Regions from separate parts of the Homo sapiens genome. Here regions 1, 2, 3 and 5 are each linked to region 4. The links are contacts of gene promoters, found by promoter capture Hi-C in blood cells and fetal thymus (Javierre and others, 2016). All regions are on one chromosome and are shown on one strand. Each heading gives the region's core, a stretch centred on a gene start or on the middle of the fragment in contact. The rest is flanking DNA. Distances are from core to core; before and after follow the strand shown.

The links. The method cuts DNA at HindIII sites, captures the fragments that hold promoters and counts their contacts. A CHiCAGO score of 5 or more calls a contact.
Region 1: a fragment that was not itself captured here is called in contact with the fragment with the promoter of FLI1 in region 4 in 5 of 17 cell types (activated CD4 T cells, total CD4 T cells, total B cells and 2 more); the score reaches 7.9 in activated CD4 T cells.
Region 2: a contact is called between a fragment that was not itself captured here and the fragment with the promoter of FLI1 in region 4, in 1 of 17 cell types (megakaryocytes). The highest score is 7.4, in megakaryocytes.
Region 3: a contact is called between a fragment that was not itself captured here and the fragment with the promoter of FLI1 in region 4, in 5 of 17 cell types (total B cells, activated CD4 T cells, naive B cells and 2 more). The highest score is 7.8, in total B cells.
Region 5: a fragment that was not itself captured here is called in contact with the fragment with the promoter of FLI1 in region 4 in 1 of 17 cell types (megakaryocytes); the score reaches 6.6 in megakaryocytes.

What each region holds. Positions count from the first base shown.
Region 1 is chr11:128,498,696-128,501,395 of GRCh38, forward strand. The region is part of intron 3 of ETS1 (ETS proto-oncogene 1, transcription factor); the gene reads right to left. Among named protein-coding and RNA genes, the nearest start is that of MIR6090, 22 kb to the right of the region's middle. The HindIII fragment of the contact is 2,499 bases long and covers 112-2,610 here.
Region 2 is chr11:128,854,138-128,856,837 of GRCh38, forward strand. All of the region lies in intron 1 of KCNJ1 (potassium inwardly rectifying channel subfamily J member 1), which reads right to left. Among named protein-coding and RNA genes, the nearest start is that of KCNJ1, 12 kb to the right of the region's middle. The HindIII fragment of the contact is 4,573 bases long and covers 1-2,700 here.
Region 3 is chr11:128,461,952-128,464,661 of GRCh38, forward strand. ETS1 (ETS proto-oncogene 1, transcription factor) reads right to left here. Exons shown (of 10, transcript NM_001143820.2): 9 at 1,558-1,676; 10 at 1-625. The coding sequence ends at 410. Among named protein-coding and RNA genes, the nearest start is that of MIR6090, 59 kb to the right of the region's middle. The HindIII fragment of the contact is 2,577 bases long and covers 152-2,710 here.
Region 4 is chr11:128,692,688-128,695,408 of GRCh38, forward strand. It overlaps FLI1 (Fli-1 proto-oncogene, ETS transcription factor), which reads left to right and starts at 1,385. Exons shown (of 9, transcript NM_002017.5): 1 at 1,385-1,589. The coding sequence starts at 1,572. SENCR (smooth muscle and endothelial cell enriched migration/differentiation-associated lncRNA) reads right to left here. Exons shown (of 3, transcript NR_038908.1): 2 at 1-704. RefSeq lists silencers at 444-493, 514-653, 1,337-1,706, 1,927-1,976, 2,017-2,236 and 1 more and a cis regulatory region at 873-1,605. The HindIII fragment of the contact is 9,137 bases long and covers 1-2,721 here.
Region 5 is chr11:128,833,547-128,836,246 of GRCh38, forward strand. No RefSeq gene overlaps it. Among named protein-coding and RNA genes, the nearest start is that of KCNJ1, 32 kb to the right of the region's middle. The HindIII fragment of the contact is 2,695 bases long and covers 12-2,700 here.

The DNA of each region.
Region 1 (2,700 bases), core at 111-2,610, 190 kb before region 4:
GGGCCTCTAAATTAACGACACTCAAGCAATTTAAAAGGAAGTTTTAGCTATTGAGATTATGATTCCTGTGTGCAAGGACCACCTCCATAGGGTACATTAAAGAATCATTTAAGCTTCTTAAATGATCATTTCAAGCCATTTACAAAGTACTTCACATGTTTCAAAGCATTTCCTGCATAGATAATTACACCTGACTCCCACCACATGACATACTTTATAGTTCCTAAATGTCCCAGAACAGTGTGACTTCTTTATCTGAAAAACACAGAGCCATGGTCTCTACATTACTCAGGAGGAAAGAATGAGTTGGGCTCTTTCGTCTCCATGGCTTTGCAGAGAACCACATTGCATCCTATTGGTTCTTCCCACATCTTACACTTCTGAATGAGGAAAACTCCTGCCCTGCCTTCACTAAAATTCTCATGACAGGATCATACGGCTTTTGGTACCAACATGACATAGGATAACCCCATCCAGGAAGACAATGGAGAATATCTGACAACTACATCTTGCTATAATCCCAGCTTCCACTAATTCTGGTTTACATAATAGCCTTTGAGGCCTCATCCTCTGAGATCTTGCAGATGCTGATGAATTGGGCTAACCAATTTATTTTAATTTCACTTAACTCCCACCTATAATTATCATTCCTGCTATTTGACTAGAACTGTATCTTTTAGAAAGCATTTTCTTGAATATTCTCATATGATTTTTCAAAACAAGCACTTGTAGTTATTATCTTTATCATGTAGGTGAGGAAACTGAGGCTCACAAATGTTTCTTAAGTGACTTAACTAAGATTATCAAACCAGTAAAGTGATATAACAAGGATTCAATCCCACATCTTCAGACACGCAAGCCACGTGTTTTCTCCCTGCACCTATTCACAGAATTAAAAGCAAATGAGGCAAAAATGATGGGGCATGATAACATTTCTTTTTTCATTTTCTCCAACATTTTCATTCTAGAAAAAGCTCTTTCTGTAGCAGGGAAGAACCTCAATCCCCGAGACTCTCTACCGACAGCAGGCTCCATTGCACGTCCTACCCAGAACTGGCCTGGTCAAACCTCGGCTCGGGGCCCACTTGGCACTTGGTCGGGGGGTAAAACAGGCATCGGGAGAGTGGTGCTGAGAATCACCAAGAAGGCCAGGCTGGGCAAGGTGTACGATGAGGAGTTTTCTCCATGGGCAAATGAAAAATCTGGGCAAACAAATGGAGTAGAGCCCGTTTATTTAGGCTGGAAGAGGTAAAGTTTTTCTGCACTTTTGAACTGTTTTCTCAAGGCCTGCCTCTCCCTCCCACGCAGGAAACAAACACAGAGACAGGCCTCTTCCAGTGAGGGCTTCAGTTGTTCAAAGTTAGCCCGGGAAGGGCAGAAGGAAGAAAGGCTTAGAGAAAGGAAGGAGGAACGGGGGCTAGGAAGGTGGTGCAGTGGCCATGGGGGTAGCCGCCAAGGGAGAAGGCTGGAGCTGGGATCAGACAGAGGAGGAGAGCTGGCCAAGAAGGGAGGAGAGAGGGAAGAAAGCAGGAAGCAGAGAAAGGGAATATTGGAAAATTGTAAACCAGAACAAAGAAACAGAATGCAGAGTGGCAATGGCCTGGGAAGAGGCAACAACCGACTCCCAATTAATGATGTTCAGAAAGCAACATTTTTTCATCAATTTTGAAAGGAAATTCTCTCTCAACTTTCTTATTTATTTATACATTATATAAATACATTTTTAAACCAAAAAAGGACCGTTTTTCCAATGGGAAAAAGTCTTGTTTGAGATGAAAGCCAGTCTTCAAAAACTTCTTAGAGGAAGCTGAAACCCCACATGTCTCGGTGCTACAGAAAGAAAAACAAAGTGGACATTCTTCCTGCGTTCTAAGGCTTTTTTATGCAGATGTGTTTTTCTTTTAATAAATAAATCTGGACTGAGAAGGAAAAAGCATACTCATACACATTCACACAGTGCAACTGTCTGTTTTCAACCCAGGGAAACCACAATGAAAAATAAGAATACGCAAGTCCATTTTCCCAGTACATCAGACAAGGATTCTCAATATTGGCAGCCACAGGCACTGAAGCAACACAGTATGCGTGCACACCCTGCTCCAGCTTCCAGATCCACAGAGGAGTACTTGATGATGAGTGGTCATGAGGGGCAGGGCAGGACCTGAAGAACGACCACCATACTTCCCCAGAAGTCTTCTCACTTAAGACATTTGGTTGCCCCATCCTTTTTGAGCTACACAATTTCACTTATAAGCCAAAATGATTATTTAAAAATGATTAGACACAACGAGTTTAAATCTGCCTTCTTATGAATTCTATCAATAGGCCCTTGCTTTGCTTGTTGAGAGATCAGCAGCACAAAGCAAATTTGTCCTTATCTGGCAGCTTTTCCCCTGCTTTCTTCCTCCTATCATCACTTCCGTCCAGGTTTCCAAACTCCGTGGTTCCTTCAACCATTCATGTTGGCATGGTTTTTGGCCACTCCCCTCGCTCCACCTAGAAGCATTCCTCTAAGCCTATGTTCCTGAAGAGCATCACAAGCATTCATAGGTGAACATCGTGCTTCTCAGAAGTTAAATGGGAACAATGAGATGATCATCTTACTCCATAAGCTTTGACTGGTGCAGACTAAGACAACACTGATCTAACAGCCTAACTACAAAAGCCACTCAAAGGACATTGCCAGGACCTCTCCATAGA
Region 2 (2,700 bases), core at 151-2,650, 160 kb after region 4:
ACACCTCCCAGTGCCAGAGGGCAGGTCTGTGGGATGGGAGGAAACTCACAGGGTCCCTCCTACTGCACCAGCCAAGCAAGAGCTCCTTCTCTCGGCTCTCCTGGGAGCTCGGTTTCTTTTCTCCCTCTTTCTCCTTCTTTCAGCACATCTTTTGTTTGAATGTTTTTGAGCATTTTATTCCTTGCCCATAGCCCTTGTTGTATTCCTGGAGTCAGCAGCGCGGATGTTCCAATTCCCATTTGAGCCAGCCCCTCCAGAGACTCAGCATGACCTCGCAGACAAGCCAGAGGCCCACGGGCCCATTCAAAACCCCGCCTTGCCCCACATTTCCCCCGTGCCACTACTTACCTCTGCTCCCCACCCCACACCACATACACCAAGGAGAGAGAGGGATGGAACGTGACTGGGATGGGGACCTTGCTGCTTTCTTGGGTGACAACAGGGCACAGAGTTGTGTTGAGTCTACATTCAAGGACTCACGGGAGAATGACAGAAACCTCCCACTGTGCATGTCCAGAGGCTGGGCCCTTTCTCAAAGGCAGGGCTGGATGTTCCTTGCGTACTTCCTGAATAAGGGCCACTATCAAGAGCTACAAAGAATGTCCCCAACCACCACCTCTCAACATCCTAATCTGGATTAGCACAAATCGTAATGATCTGTTTGATGACACACCTGCAGGGCCAAACCTAGATCTTCTTAAGTATCATAGATGCACGATGGGTTTGGGGAAAGAAACTGAAGCCCCTGGTGTGCTATGAGTACTAACTCCTATGAAAAGAAACAAGGTGGTCTAGCTGGAGCGCACGTGCAGGCTCCCCACTGAGTCTCTGGCCTTGAAACACGTATCTGGAGTCAGGCTTGAATTCCAGCTCTGCAGCTTACTGGTGCATGACCCAGCAGCTCACCTGGGGATTTTACAGAGCTAATTTCTCAATGTAATCGATTAAGCCTGGAAAACAAACAAAAAATAGTTGCTAAGAAACGTAAGGAGCAGTAAAAACCCTGGAGCTCATTGTGAGCTGTTTACGGTTTTTCTTTCCTTTTCTTTTCTTTTTTGTTGTTTTGGACATACTGTCTTCCTGATTCACTTTTCTTACCCTCCCACATTTCCAATAATTGTACCCATTTTCAGTGATGGGTTTATTCTTTTTCCCCAACATCATTTGAGTCCTGACCTTTCCCACCTTGCCAAGGTCCCCTGAGCTTCACTGGAGCAGATGGAGAAAAGAGGATAGAAGGAAGCCCTCTAGGAATTGTGATGAGATTGACAACTGGGCTTAGTACTAACCAAAATGCTGGCTCCCTGGCACCCAGAGGGTGTGAGGTCCAAGCTGTGATCAGCATTAAGATTGAAGACATTATTGCAAAGAGGCAGCAAATGAGGTTGGCAAAGCAAAGATGGGGCTCCACAGGTGCCTTGAAAATAGTGAGGGGATAGGCTATAAGGCGGTGTAGAGCTGGGCTTAAACGTCACCTCTTCCACTTGTTATCAGAGTGAGTTATTTGGCTTCTCTAAACCTGAACGTTCTCCTCCATGAACATGGAAATAAGGAAATCTGTTTCCCAATGCTGAGATAGGATTAAGTGTGGGAAGGCCCAGTAGAGGATCTGGTATGGGGAAAGCCACAATAAATGCCAGGCTCCTTCCTTGTTTAGCAGGGCTGAGGGGCTCTGATGAAGAGATCAGGACTGGGACAGCCAAAGGCTGAGTTGGCACTTGGGGAAATCAGTTTTAACTCCCAGGTCTGGATTTGGGCAGGCAGCTCTCACCTGCCAGACCCAAGGACGGTACCACTGTGCCTGTGTGAGCTGCAGAGGAAATGCAGGAAGGATGCATAGTCCTGCTCGGGGCTCTTGCCAGGTCTTGGGAAGTCTTCTTTCTCCCTCCCCTCATCCCCTCCTGGAGCCTCTTAAAGAAGGTTCTCCCACCAGAACTTCCGGGCGGGAAAAGACAGCAGGCTCTGAGCTGCTTTCAAGGGGCCTGTCAGAAGCATCTTTGTGTACATGAGGCCCAGAGGGAGAAGACTGTTTATCCGGCTGCTAGGGACAAATTAATGAAGTGGTGAAAGGCTGTGGATCAGAGAGAAAAAGATTGCCCATGGAATGATGAGATTAGGTTAGACGAGAAGGATGCAATTGTGCCAGACCAACTGAATTTCCTCTGAGGTTAGCACGACCAGCCTTCCAGACCCGGAGGCAACCAGGGCACAGGGCTTGGTGATGGATGCCTGGCGTGATCCTTTCTCTGGAAGCTCTTGGCCAGGGTTGCAGGTACCATGGCCACCAGGCTGGGGTGAGAGGTGCATGTGCACCCTCAGAGTGCAGGGCAGAGAGAGGACCGCAGAAGAGGGAGCAGGGGAGGGGCAGCTCCACATGTGATGTACGCTGGGACAGCACATCTGGGCATAGGCATCTTGGACTGAAATTCCTACTCTAAAAAAATGTCCTAGCACCATCTTCTTTTCCTTCTTAGCACTGAATACAACTGATTTCATGTTGGTTTTGTTCAATTCAGATCATCCTCAGCCCTGTCAATGGCACACCCACCCCCGAGTCAAGCAAAACCTTGATTCACCCTTAATTCTTTTCTTCCTCTCACCTCACACGCAATCCATCAGCAAATCTTGTCTGCTCTTTCTACACAATATAGTCAGGACCTGTCTGTCCTCTTCTCTTCATCTCCTCTGCTTGCCAGGCCA
Region 3 (2,710 bases), core at 190-2,689, 230 kb before region 4:
AAGCAAATTAATTGCCTTACATCAGTTTCATGAGTTCTGATGTGACAATGTCACTTGCTAATGGGTCCACAACTCAAGACACTTTTTCATGGATGATTTTTAAAAATGATTGGACACATTAGTCTCTTTCTCTGTTAAGCCAGAGCCTTCAAGCTTCTGAGAAGGCCCTTCTCCCTCTCCTGAAAATTTGCTCAAGAATTTCTGGTCCCACCCACCCCACAAGTCCTGGCTTTCCTTTCCCAACTGCGCACAATTGATTACAGCTGCAACTGACTTAGCTCCCACCCCTGAAGGTAAAAAATGAGTTCTGGAAAATAAAAAATAGAATAACAATTCAAAATTCAGAGTCCAACCAACACGGCTGTCCTTGGAAGGTCTCAGCAGGGTTTCCCCAGCCCCTTCAGTGCCATCACTCGTCGGCATCTGGCTTGACGTCCAGCATGGCGTGCAGCTCCTCAGGGGTGTACCCCAGCAGGCTCTGCAGGTCACACACAAAGCGGTACACGTAGCGTTTCCCCGCTGTCTTGTGGATGATGTTTTTGTCGTAATAGTAGCGTAGGCCACGGCTCAGTTTCTCATAATTCATCTTAGGTTTGTTTTTCCTCTTTCCCCATCTCCTGGCCACCTGAAATTTAAAAAGAAAAATAAAGGAGGAGTAGGCAAAAATCTACAAGACAGGCCAAATATATATGTTTCTATGCCTATGCTATACCCATTCATGGTGACCCATGATGCTCAAGTAAGATGATTTGAGATTCATGTAGATATAGAAAATATTTTTCGGGCCTATCTCCTGAATTCCATTTTTCATGGGTTGGGCAAGGATGGGAGTCACAATGATTCTTTAAGTTGATGAAAACACAGTGACCCTGAACTAGGATTAAATATGTGACTTTAAAAAACAAACAAAAAGCCACACTATACATTCTCCTCTTTCCGCATATTATTAGTAAAATCTCCTTGCTTTGCAAGCATGAAATCTAACAGGGAAGTGTGAAGCGGAGGAGCTGAGCTGCAATCATACCTGCCTTTCATCAACAGGAAGTGTTTTTTTTCCATACCAGGGCACAAATATTTTCTCATGTCTGCCAGAACAAAGATGTTGTCTCTCCTGTTCATTGTTTTTTATCCTCAGAATTGGGCATGGCACGGAACCACTACTCCATAAACATGTGTGTAATGAAATAAGAAACTAATGAGCCAATCTCCCAAGGCCTCTTGAACTGTCTGGCCCCTTTCACACTCACAGAGCCACCGGGCTAGGAAGAGGCTAAGTCACAGGAGGCAGCTCTATGGGTGATAACTGACCTACTGCCAGGCACGTTAATGCCTTCTATCAGCTAATCCTGTAAGACAAATGGGGTAACATAGATCTTTTCTCTATTTTCCAAATAATGAACCTGGAGCTCAGACAGGCTACCTAGCTTGCTCCGGGTGGCAAGTGGCAGAGCTGGGAATCCCAATCCTGGAACACGTCATTCAGGCCCACGCCACCCCTTCCAGGAGTTTTCTCTCATCCTTCCTCAACACAGTACTCGCAAGCCCCTCCTTCCTTACCTCATCTGGGTCAGAAAGTTTGAATTCCCAGCCATCTCCTGTCCAGCTGATAAAAGACTGACAGGATTTATCAGTGAGTAATTCCAGAAGAAACTGCCATAGCTGGATTGGTCCACTGCCTAGAAACACAAGCCATTGTGAATCATTACACCAGATATTCAGCACTCTACGCAGCTAATCCCCACACACGGCACTCCCACATCCCTCTTCTCTCAGCCCATCCAGCCAGGAGAAAATGAAGGCAACAGACAGTGCACATGTCGGAGGAAGTGTTATGAGCTCGAACAGATAGAAAAGACAAAGGCCTCCCTATAAAACAAAAGCATGGAAGAAAATGTGTCAAGTGCTTTATTTTGATTAACTTAAGGATCGGTTCATTTTTATTGCTAAACAAATTCTAGAAAGAGAACACTGTGCCTATCCTCTGGGATATTCTAAGGCAGCATAATCTTTTACACCTGCAAAAACTAAGTCATTATTTTTGCCTTCAGAAGTAAGAAACATATTAACGAAGGAATGAATGTCTTTGCCAGTTCCAAACACAAGTTATGGCTCATAAGCACTGCTCTGTAGTAGGGAGCCTGTGGCCCCTGATTTGTGAGTAAGAAGGATCACTATCCTCCGGCCCTCTTACAAGGAAATAGATGTTAAATATCTGTTCAGTCATAATATTTCTCTCCACTGCCACCACCCTGCCCTTCCAGTCCACTTACAGGAAAGCACCCAAAGGAAAAAAAAAAAAAAGCATCATTACTATTTGAGGAATTAACGTGCCACCCAGAAAATCCTCAGGGGTCAGATGAGGACTGTCAGAAATTCTGCATAGGTTCAGTATATTCTAAATTAGACACACACACACACACACACACACACACACACACACACACACTTCTCTGTCTTAGCCATCAACACTCTGACAGTCAATTTATTCTATGCTAAAAGGTTTATATCACACCGATTTCCTTTGAGGATACTTTTCTCATCTGAAATGACAATGCCACCAGTGATTCTTAATTTATAGGTGTCGGTGGAGAGACAAATAGGGGTTCAAAAGTCCATGCTTCTTGTTACACTGCCCCTTATAACATAAACAAACTGGGCAGAGCGGGACTGGGAAAGACCCAGTCCATGTCTCTGGATACAGCCCAGGAAG
Region 4 (2,721 bases), core at 135-2,634:
TTTTTCTTCCAATTGACTTGGATCTCCTCTGGATTTTTTTTCCCTCTTTCCCCCGTCGGACTCTTAAATAAAAGTGAGCAAGTCCAAAGCGTGGTCCGGAGAGCGTGGACAAGGTAACCTGTTTTGGATGTCCGGGAGAAGGGAGTCCGGCCGAAAGGGCCCAGCCCCTCGAGGCTGCTCCAACTGGGGCGCGCGGCGGCCCAGGAGGGAGGCGGGGAGGTCTCCGGGTTGGGCCGGGGAACGCCGGCCTCCAGGCTGGGTAGGGAGGACGGTCCAGAGCGCGGGCCTCCGGGTCTCACCCCGGGAAAAGTCTGGGTCTGCTCTGCGCTGTTGCGTGCTGCGCTCCTGGGACCTGCTGACTGTCCTAGAGGGAACGTCCCGCGGTAGTGTCAGTTCCCTGGGGACCAGGAAGGGCGACTCTTGCCTGGGAGTCAGTGCTTGGGCCGTCGGGTCCGGGTAAGCGCTGGGGGTTTGGCTCGAGAAGATGCGGATAGGTGGCCTAGGGCGCCGCGGATCTCCGCCCTCTGCGGGCACCGGGAGCCCAGGGTCGAGGCGCGCCGCCCCGAGGGGCCCCTTCTCCTAACAATGCGCCCGGAATGGAGTCCGCGCCCTGACAGCGCGGGTCAGCCCGAAACCGCCCAGAATCCGCTTCGATGAGTGGGTGAGCCGCTCTGGGAGTCTGCCGCGTCTCGGCAGCGGAGGGCCTGAGTGGAAAAATTCTTATTGGATGCACTTTTTAATGGTTGGTTTGCCTCGGTTTTCGTCCGAGTCTTCCCCGGCAGTAGGCGCTGGGTTACCCGCAGCCCTAGCCAACTCTCCCTCCATACCCCCCCTACCCCACCCCCAAAAAGTTTGTCTCCGGCTGGAAAAAGCATTAATGAACGTATCTGTGGGAAGAAACGGAAAGTGAATGAGTCAGGAGGGCCACCTTCGGCCAACCGCCTCAGGAAAAGCAAAGAAGCCAAAGGTCTTTGGCTTTGGATTTTGGGGGAAGGTGATGGGGGGAGGTTCAGACTTCGGGAATCAGGGCGCGGACGCTGGGCGTGGACCCCGTCATTGTTCCCGGCTAGCTCTTATCTCCCAGGAGCAAGTATCCTGTGTGCGCAGCGCATGAATGTGTCTGGGCATCTCCGCGTATATTTATATAGTGTGTGATGCGAAAAGCAGGACCAGCAGGGGAGGAAGAGGGGGTGTGGGGGGGGAGGGAAGACGAGGGAGAGCAGAGGGGAGAGAAGAGAGAGGAGAGCTCGAGGCGAGAGAGAGAGAGAGAGAGAGAGAGAGAGAGAGAGAGAGAGAGAGAGAGAGATAGGACTTCCTCCCCGATTCGCAAAGTGAAGTCACTTCCCAAAATTAGCTGAAAAAAAAGTTTCATCCGGTTAACTGTCTCTTTCGCTCCGCTACAACAACAAACGTGCACAGGGGAGTGAGGGCAGGGCGCTCGCAGGGGGCACGCAGGGAGGGCCCAGGGCGCCAGGGAGGCCGCGCCGGGCTAATCCGAAGGGGCTGCGAGGTCAGGCTGTAACCGGGTCAATGTGTGGAATATTGGGGGGCTCGGCTGCAGACTTGGCCAAATGGACGGGACTATTAAGGTAAGCGGCGGGGCAACGGACGCGGGCGGCGGGGACCGGCCGGGGAGGCGAAGCGGCGGGCGGGTAGGTGCGGGGCCCGCGTCCCGGAAGACGTGGCCTCTCTCCCTTCCCTCCGCGCCCCGGCTTCGCGCCGGCTCCTCCGGCGCTCGGGTGGCGAGTCCTACTCGCGGGCCAGCCGGCCAGGCGCCCGCATTGAGGGCGACCCTCCCCCGAAATCCCAGCCCCCAAAGTGGAGCCCCGGCCCCCCTCCCACCTCGCTGCCCGCCGGGGCTGCAGGAGGGGACGGCGGGAAACCGGGGGACCCCAGGGTACGGAACGGAGTCAAGGGCGAGAGACCTCGGGGTCCACCACTCCCACCGACACCCGGGGCTCCCGTGGCCCCAGCGCTAGGCACTGGGCTTCCTCTCCGCAGAGGCGGAACACGGCGGGGGCGGGGGCTGCAGTCGCCCGGGCTCGGGTCCCTGCCTGGTGGGCCCTGGGGTGGGTAAGTGGCCTCGTTGCACGAGGGTAGGGGTGCAAGTGAGTGTGTCGGGGGATCTATCTGAGCGGGCTCCTCCAGATGGAAGCCCCTGTTTACATGTCAGCGCTTTCCCTTCCTCTCGGCACTCAGTCGCCCGGCTCTAGGCGCTGGAGAGCCGCCGGCTCCGCGGGACTCCTGGGCCGGCCTCGCCGCCTCTCCGGCGGGGAACCTTCCCCAGCCCCCGTCCGCACAGATCCCTAGCGCCCCGAGCCCCCGCCCTTCGCGCCTAGGCGTGCGCCGGCTCCAGGACCAGGGCTCCTGGAGCTGTCGCCTCCGAAAGGGTCCTGCGTCCTTCGGAGCCGCCTCCGTTGCAGGGGCCGGCTGTGAGCCCGCGCCCCGCGCCCGCCCGGCCATTCCCACCCCAGCCGCCGCCGCCAAGCCTGGGTCTAGGTTGCAAAGTGCAACCCAGGCGGAAAGGTGAGGGTTTGGGTTCGCGTCTCACTTCAGAAAAGTTGACTGCTGTCTCTGAAAGGGTTCGCCAAGTAGGGCCAGGAGCAGAGAGGAGGGACACCCCCTAACGTGACGGGCCTTAGAGGACCTAGGGGAATGAATGGGACCAGGGGTTAGCTTCGAGGCTGCCGCGCAACACCAAGCGGGAGTCTGTCTGGAAAA
Region 5 (2,700 bases), core at 109-2,608, 140 kb after region 4:
AAAGAGAGGGAAGCTTTCAGGAAGGCAAAACAGAAAAGGCCACCATCTCTCAGGCTCAAAACTGCACAGCAGGGGCCTCTGGAGCAAGATCCCAGCAACTACTGCAAGAGCACCCACGAAGGTGAGGGAGGGTGTCGCATAGATGTTGGTATTATCAGCACTTATCCCTACACAGTGATCTGCAGAACATTCTATTAGGTGAAGAAAACCCTGCAGAATGGTGTTTCTAGAGTGTTACCTTTTGTGTAAGAATGGAGCAGCATGTAAATACTAACATGTCACATATGCATTGCTTACATCTTTCACAAAGAAACCGCCACAGGATACAACATAATAAAGATGCTTACCCTTTATAGAACGGGAAGAAATAGAGTGGAGGGCACAGGAATGGAAGCATGTTTTCTAAACCCTGTTCTGTGGTTTTGAAATTATATAAATTCCTTGCATAATTCATAAAAGAAATGGCGAAATCAAAAAAGGAAAACAATAAACAGACTTTAACGATTGCAAATAAATGGAAACAAATGAACCTATGTCCAGTTGGTACCTAATCACACGGAGAAAAGAACTACTTCAAGTGACTTTATCACTGTGTTGATTGTACATTGTTATATAAAGAATATCTATAGGATGGATGATTTAAAAATGTTTAATCCCAAATACTTTTAAGACTGTAATCAATAGTCTTATTGTTAGCAGTGGAGTCAATATTGTTTTTGCTGAAACTATTATAAGCACATGGCATAAGACAATAAAAAGATTCTCCCCGACATCAGCAGTTTTCCAGTTTAACTCTCGTCCTCTGAACTGGCTGGAGCTCTGGGATCTTTTCTGCAGTAGGCAGGACCCTTGCTTCCTCTTTTTTGCCTCCCCAGTGCCTGGCTCACAGTAAACCCAAAATAAGCATCTCTTGAATTGAAGACAAACCCAAAGCACCAGGATTCTACTCAAATCCCCCCAACTCATAGCCTATCCCAGCTGGGACAGACCCCTGCAGGCACTGTTCTTGTCCCCCAGGCCTCCACTGGTCTCCATCAGGCCCTGCCCTGGGCTCTGCTTTCTTTGCCCTTGAAGCACCAGGCGCAGGGTTTGCTCTGGGACCAGTGTCCTCCCCTTCATTCCTCACCTTCAAACCCATTGCTCCCACCTCATGTTGCCATATGCACAGCCATTTACTTTCAACAGATGGATTTTTCACATCCATTATTTCATTGAATCCCCTCCTTAACTCTATTACAAAACTCCATTCTACAAATAAAGAAACTGGGGCTTAATGAAGTTAAGTCATTTTTCCAGGCCCCTTGACTAATGACTGGTCAATGACATAGGTCAGTCAAAAGCTCATTGGACAGATGTGGGTTTGAATCCACTACTAGCCATGTAGACCTTGAGCAAATCATTCATTGGTTTATTTTATTCATTATAACCATGTATGGATTGTGTGAGGAACTCTGCTGGTGCTAGGAATACAGAGGTGAGTAGAGAACACAGGGGCTGTTCTCCAGGGAGAATGGAGGCTCCACTTCCCATGTCAAAATGGAAATAATATCTGCCTCTACATCAAAGACTGAAATATAAATATGTGTGTGTGTATGTGTATACATACATATGCACACACATAGTTTTTAATTATATATATATAATTAGTATATATATTTAGTGTTTGTGTATATTTAGAGAGAGAAGTATGTGTATTAGTATTAGGAAGATACTTTGCACCAATGGGCTAATCAAATCTTCAGGACACCCATGATACTTCCGTATACTGACCTGGTGGATGACCTAGAGCTCATGGGAAAAGACTGCCTTTTCCTAGAACCTGCAATTCCAGAGATGTTCGTTCAGCACTCGCCAGGGCTCTGTCTTGTGCTGAGCAATGAGTGGTTTCTCCCAAAGTATAAGACGCATCCCAAGAGCATGCGCCAGTCATCCGTGGGTTTCAGGGAAGTGTGCGATGGCCCTGGGGAATCTGCTCAGAGGATGGTCCCTCCTAGGATGTCGACGAGGGATTTTAAACTCATGGGCTTTCAAAGCGGACTGCCCGGGGTTTGCATGCCAGCCCTGCCATTTTCCAGGTAATGTCTCTGGACACCTTCCTTACCTTAGCTGCCTCAAGTGGAATAAAGGTATAATCATAGTCTTGACCTCATAGGATTGTTGGGAAAATTACATGAGGGACTGCATATAAAATGCTGTAAACAGAACCTCGGACATGGTAACAACGTAGTAAATAACTCCTAGTAAATAACTTTCTTCTGCCACTGCACAAGCCTTGGGGTTTCCCACTTGTCTGAAGGATACCGATGTCTTCCAGAACACCCAAGCAGTCGAGAGTGCGCTGGGTAGAGACGCACCCCAGCTCCTGGCCCCTGCAACCGGTGGTGCAAATCTCCCTCTCCAAGGGGCTCAGCTCCAAGGAGTCCAGCTGGGTGCATCTGGCTGGGGAGATTAAATTATTTTTGAATTCCTAACTGAATGTTCTTTTAATGGAAACTTAATGACAGGCATTGAAATAGATTTCCTCCATAACCCCTCCTCCCACCCCCCACGGCTCTGCCTTGCGCAGTTCCCGATAACCTTTATTCCCTGCCCCTGGACTTTTATCTCCCCAATGACAAACAGCCCTTGCCGGACAGAAAGAGGAAATTCCAGTCATTGTTCTCAAACTTCTGGCTTCCAAAATAAAATGCTCTATCTCCC